Regions from separate parts of the Homo sapiens genome. Here region 1 is linked to region 2. Evidence: promoter capture Hi-C in 16 types of primary human blood cells and fetal thymus (Javierre and others, 2016). All regions are on one chromosome and are shown on one strand. The core of a region is centred on a gene start or on the middle of the fragment in contact, and the rest is flanking DNA. Distances in the headings are between cores, read along the strand shown. Region 1 overlaps RASSF1 (Ras association domain family member 1). Region 2 holds the start of MANF (mesencephalic astrocyte derived neurotrophic factor).

Region 1 (2,745 bases), core at 153-2,652, 1.1 Mb after region 2:
CCTTAGTTCTTAGCCCCACATCCTTGCTGGCTGCAGAATAGCAGCGGGTTCTGGGTAAGGAGCATTCTGCTAAAACGCTCCACCCTGCTCCCTCATCTGTCCTCTCCATTTGTCCCCATCAGATGGTTTAAGTGCTTAAGGGGACTCCAGGGCGGAGTCAGGGAGAACCCTGGCTCTCCTGGGCTAGGCACAAGATCATTCTACAGGAAACCTTGTGGGAATTCTTCTGGGACAAAGTATTGGTCAGCGCTGAGCTTAGCTGTGTCTGTGACACTCGCATTCTAACTAGGGCCTATCTGACGTCAACAGGAAGTAAGGCTGATGCAGTGGGGCCAAGGGAGTCTGGGAGAAGAAAGTCGGTTCAGAGCCCTGGCTGCCCTGTCCCACACTCCACCCTTCCGGCAAGAATCCAGTCCCTAGATGAGGTGGGGAGTGAGTGGTCGAGTTAAAAATCTCTGGGTCGGGTACGATGGTTCACGCCTGTAATCCCAGCACTTTGGGAGGTGAAGGCAGGCGGATCACTTGAGGTCAGGAGTTCAAGACCAACCTGGCCAATGTGGTGAAATCCCATCTCTACTAAAAATACAAAAATTAGCCGGGTGTTGTTGTGGCACGCGCCTGTAGTCCCAGCTACTCGGGAGTCTGAGGCAGGAGAATCGCTTGAACCCAGGAGGCAGAACTTGCAGTGAGCCAAGATCCAGCCACTGCACTACAGCCTGGGCGACAGAGTGAGGCTTCGTCTCAAAAAAAAAAAAAATCTTTGGGCCAAATCTCCAGACAGCACAGGCAGGTGCAGAAACCCACCAGGAAGCTGCCTGTGTACCTCTGGCAGATTGGAGCCTGGCCTAAAGCTGCCTTTTATGCAGCTTGGGTCAAGGTTAAACATCATGTCACAGTGATTTTTCTCACTATGTGTGAGACATGGAGAACTGGCTCCAAGTACTACTCTGTCCACTGGTGGCTGGACTACTGATGTGCACCACTCTCCACTCCTCTCACCCTGCAGTGGGTCATGGCCCCGTGCCGGGGCAGAGGAGAAAAATGGGCTGCCTTCTCCAGGACAAACCCTCACTCCAACTCAACTAGGGTGCTGTGATCAGAATGTGCAATTGAGGTGTGATTTTACTGATTTTTTTTTTTTTTGAGACCGAGTTTCGCTCTTGTTGCCCAGGCTGGAGTGCGATGGCACGATCTCAGTTCACTGCAACCTCCACCTCCCGAGTTTGAGCAATTCTCCTGCCTCAGCCTCCTAAGTAGCTGGGATTACAGGCATGTGCCACCACGCCTGGCTAATTTTGTATTTTTAGTAGAGACGGGGTTTCTCCATGTTGGTCAGGCTGGTCTCAAACTCCTGACCTCAGGTGATCCACCCGCCTCGGCCTCCCAAAGTGCTAGAATTACAGGCGTGAGCCAACGTGCCCAGCCTGTTTTTGTTTTTTGTGTTTTGAAGCAGGGTCTCACTCAGTTCCCCAGGCTGGAGTGCAGTGACACGATAATAGCTTACTGTAGCTGCAATCTCCCGGGCTCAAACGATCCTCCCACCTCAGCCTCCTGAACAGTTGGGACTACAGGCACACCACCACACCTGGCTAATTTTTTTTTTTCTTTTTTTAGTAGAGATGAGGTCTTGCTATGTTGCCCAAGCTGGTCTCAAACTCCTGAGGATCAAGTGATCCTCCTACCTTAGCCTCCCAAAATGCTGGGATTGCAGATGTGAGCCACCACACCCAGCCTGATTTTACTTTAAATGAGAGTCCCTCTTCAGAGTCCCTCAGCTGTTCCTGGCCCCTGGCCATGTGCCTTCAGTTGCCCCTGCTTCTGTGGTATCCTTAAGGCTACATTCAGTGCTGAGGCCCTAGGCAGGCAGCAGAGAGAAGCCAAATGATTCTGTCTTTCCCTTATCCACCCAGAGCATGCAAAACCAGGAGCAGTGGTGGGTTCAGGGTGGGCACCAGCTATGTATATGTACATCAGGGACAGGGGGCCAAAGGCAGTCAGTTTCCAAAGACTGCCCCAGAGGCCATTTTTCAGAGAAGCCCTGGGTTCCTCAAGGGCCCTGTGTCCATGCTGGCCCATCTTGCAGGACGAGCCTGTGGAGTGGGAGACACCTGACCTTTCTCAAGCTGAGATTGAGCAGAAGATCAAGGAGTACAATGCCCAGATCAACAGCAACCTCTTCATGAGCTTGGTGAGTTGACTGCTCAGGAAGGGGGCGTGGGGAGGAGCAGGTACCCAGCTATGTGCCTGATACTCAGAGGGTCACAACTGAGGTTATCTTGGGTGGGCGCAAGCAGTAATTTGTGCATACCCAGCCTAGCCCCAAGTAGACTGACATCTCACCTGGAACCTATTATCAAGGTTTGGTTTCTCTATTTCTTTAGAACAAGGACGGTTCTTACACAGGCTTCATCAAGGTTCAGCTGAAGCTGGTGCGCCCTGTCTCTGTGCCCTCCAGCAAGAAGCCACCCTCCTTGCAGGATGCCCGGCGGGGCCCAGGACGGGGCACAAGTGTCAGGCGCCGCACTTCCTTTTACCTGCCCAAGGATGCTGTCAAGCACCTGCATGTGCTGTCACGCACAAGGGCACGTGAAGTCATTGAGGCCCTGCTGCGAAAGTTCTTGGTGGTGGATGACCCCCGCAAGTTTGCACTCTTTGAGCGCGCTGAGCGTCACGGCCAAGGTGGGCTTCCCACCCCACCCTGCCCTATGTGAGGGTATATACGCATGCACCTGAGCATGCAGGGGC
Region 2 (2,929 bases), core at 34-2,533:
GTGCCTAGCACATAGTAGGTGCTTAATAAAGACTAACAGGATAAAAAAAAATCACAGTTGCAGAACACATGCTGCTTTGGGAAGGACATAGAAGCACTTCAGTCTTCTCACATTAGTTTATGGAGAGAGTAGCTGGCTTCCTGAACAGAGAGGTGGGCAAGGCCTTTTATCAAACGGCTGGTGAAGCCGAGGGTTAACATGAGCCAGGGCCAGTTGGGGAGGATCACCAGCTACTTACCAACCGATTCTCTTTGCCTCTTGCTTCCCGGCAGAACTTTATAAGTTCGTTTTCAATAGTGGCTGGTGAGAATGTGACATCTCTGTCTTTGAGGTCCTGGTAAAATCTTCCCAGATAAGAAATACAAACTGGAAAAGAGAGGGACGGGAGATGCTCAGCAATCACCAAGCTGTTCCAATCCACCAGAAAAGAACTCCGCCAGCAATTTTAATAGGAGACACGGAGATGAATCATTAGAGGTGAGCTTTTCCATCACCGATTTTTCTCAGGTGTCTACAGGTAGACAGAACCCGGTTCCAAGTGGCGGGGGTCCCCTGGTACACCCAGGGCATCAAAGGACCAAGCATCACCCAATGACCTATAAACGACTTCTCCCTGCTCCTTTCATCAAGTTTAAGCCCATGGTGAACACGTGTCCTTGAGACGGGACTCACTGTGACCTCATAAATGGAGAGACTGGAAGGTGAAGAGAAAAATGATCAAAATGCTGCTGCTAATTTCCAAATACAACAGCGGACCCAGAGGTGCAGCTTCGTGATCCCAACAGACAGGGCGCAGCACCCACGGCCAGCCCTGGAGCTCCCGACGCCGAACGGGGAGCGGTAACCTCTAGATGGTGGTGGGGACAATAACTCAGGAGTGATGGAGATTTCAGGACAAGTTTTCAACGGGATCTAGTCTCAACTTTTCTTCGTCGGACCAATGTTTTCTAGGCCCAAGAAAGATTTACTAGGGCGGGCGCCGGAGCCTCCTCATGCAGGCCCCGCGGGGACCTGCTGTCGCCCCCGCCCCCGCCCCCGCCCTCGCCCTCTTGGCCCCGGCCGTCTGGTGATGTTGTGGGGTTCAGCGCCGCCGCCAGAACGGTCACGGAGCGCGGCCCCCGGCCCCCTATCCCGCACCTTCGCAGTCGCCCGGCCGCAGCGCCCGGCTGCCCGGCAGCACGCTCAGAGCCAGCGCCACCGCCAGCCCCTGCGTGGCCCACATCCTCCTCATCCTCCTCATCCTCCTCCTCCTCCTCCTCCTCCGCTGCCGCCGCCGACCGACTGAACCGCACCCGCCGCGCCGCACCGCCTCCAAGTCCCGGCCGCGCGCCGTAGCTCCCCATTGGCGGGGGGCCCCCCGGCGCCCTCCCACATGCCACTTCCCCATTGGTCCAGGAGCCGCGAGCCCAGACGGGCGGCTCCACGCTGCCCTCCCTCATTGGCTGGTGGTGTCTGAGCCCTAGACAGTTGTCGGCCGCTGATTGAACCCGGGCTGGCCGCAGGAAGCGACTACAGCAGCGACGGAAGCGGTGTGGGCCGCCATCTTGGGTAAGGGCAGCGACTGTGGCTGAGGCTGGGTACTGCTAGCTGAATGGGGTTCGGCCACGCCTTACATCTGTTGAGTTGACCCGCGTACCCCTGCCCTGGGCCCCAGGCTCCCTCGAAAACCCCTGCTGATCTCCTCGCCCGGACTCCGACTCGTGGTGCAGGAGTTCTGGGGTCAGCCAAGACAACAGGTTAGGCAGGAAGGGCGGGCGGCCGCAGGCAAGGCTCAAAGAGGTTTCTTTTTTCTTCTTTCATTCGCGTGGGCAACGGATCCAACCTTTGAAAGCCCACCTGCTGATCCTCCACCTGACCGGAGCCCGCCGTGCATAGGCTGATAGGAGACGTGCGGGGTGGACGGACTGCGGGACATCTGAAGGAAGGGCTCAAGGCGCGCCAAGCTCAAAGCTGGGCCGCCACTCTAGACCGTGGAGGGAAGCGCCCGGGCCAGATCATCGGTCGAGGACATGGGGTCGCCTCAGAGTGGGAAGGTGAGGGGCTCGGGAGGTGCCCTTACAAGCTCTGAATCGTGGCTTGGTGGCTGGCCAGCCTCCTCCTGCCTCCCCGGCTAGGCCCTCGGGGTCCCCCGCTGCCGTGGGACCTCCTGAGTGGGGTCCCGGGAATCACCAGAGAAGCACTGGAGGATGTTTCCTTTTCGACTGCCCTCCTTTCAAGTGCCCTCCTGGCTGCCTGCCTTCAAGGCAGGATGCGGGAACCGTTGGCTCTACTCAGTGCAAAAAGGACATGTCTATAGGGCTAAAAAGGGCTTGGAGCCCGGCGACAAGGGTTGGAGAGGGGCACATCCTCTGCTCCCATTCAGTGAATTCAGTGGATCAGTATCACGTATTTATCTTTAATTCACATCACAGCAGTCAAGGAAGTGGGGAAAGGGGGAAAAAAAATCAAGTGGCAGATATTTACATCTAAAATTCACATTACTTGTTGGATTTTGAACATGCTACCACAATATATACAGTAAAATACCTCTTGGGACAATGGTACAAATTTTGTTTCCTTTAACTTTGCTTTTCTGGTACAGGTAAGATCATTTTTAAATCACTTTTTTTCTTTAAACATGAATACACAAAAGAAATGGTTAGAAGTTTCCTTGTTTTAAATAAGCACAGAATGCGGGAGGTTAAAAACACATTTATAGTGCTGAATACCAATTGGACATCACACTCTATACATTTTTTGCTCAAATTCCTGTACAAATACACAGCATTCAAATAGGTATTTACAAATAAGCTTGAAAGAATGAAAATCAGTATTTTACAATCTTTTCAAAGGGTTCTCATCTCTGGCCTCCCATTTCCCCTCAGACTGACTTATTCTCCAACAAAAGGGATTTCAGAATGTGTCCTTTTCATTTAGTTAGGGAAAATGG

Evidence for each region. The method cuts DNA at HindIII sites, captures the fragments that hold promoters and counts their contacts. A CHiCAGO score of 5 or more calls a contact.
Region 1: a fragment that was not itself captured here is called in contact with the fragment with the promoter of MANF in region 2 in 1 of 17 cell types (fetal thymus); the score reaches 6.6 in fetal thymus.

Annotation. Positions count from the first base shown.
Region 1 is chr3:50,331,493-50,334,237 of GRCh38, reverse strand. It overlaps RASSF1 (Ras association domain family member 1), which reads left to right. Exons shown (of 6, transcript NM_007182.5): 3 at 2,084-2,188; 4 at 2,382-2,679. Among named protein-coding and RNA genes, the nearest start is that of TUSC2, 4.6 kb to the right of the region's middle. The HindIII fragment of the contact is 3,617 bases long and covers 1-2,745 here.
Region 2 is chr3:51,383,645-51,386,573 of GRCh38, reverse strand. It overlaps MANF (mesencephalic astrocyte derived neurotrophic factor), which reads right to left and starts at 1,283. Exons shown (of 4, transcript NM_006010.6): 1 at 1,138-1,283; 2 at 239-366. The coding sequence starts at 1,231. DOCK3 (dedicator of cytokinesis 3) reads right to left here. Exons shown (of 53, transcript NM_004947.5): 53 at 2,376-2,929. RefSeq lists a silencer at 1,088-1,457 and an enhancer at 1,518-1,867. The HindIII fragment of the contact is 4,055 bases long and covers 1-2,792 here.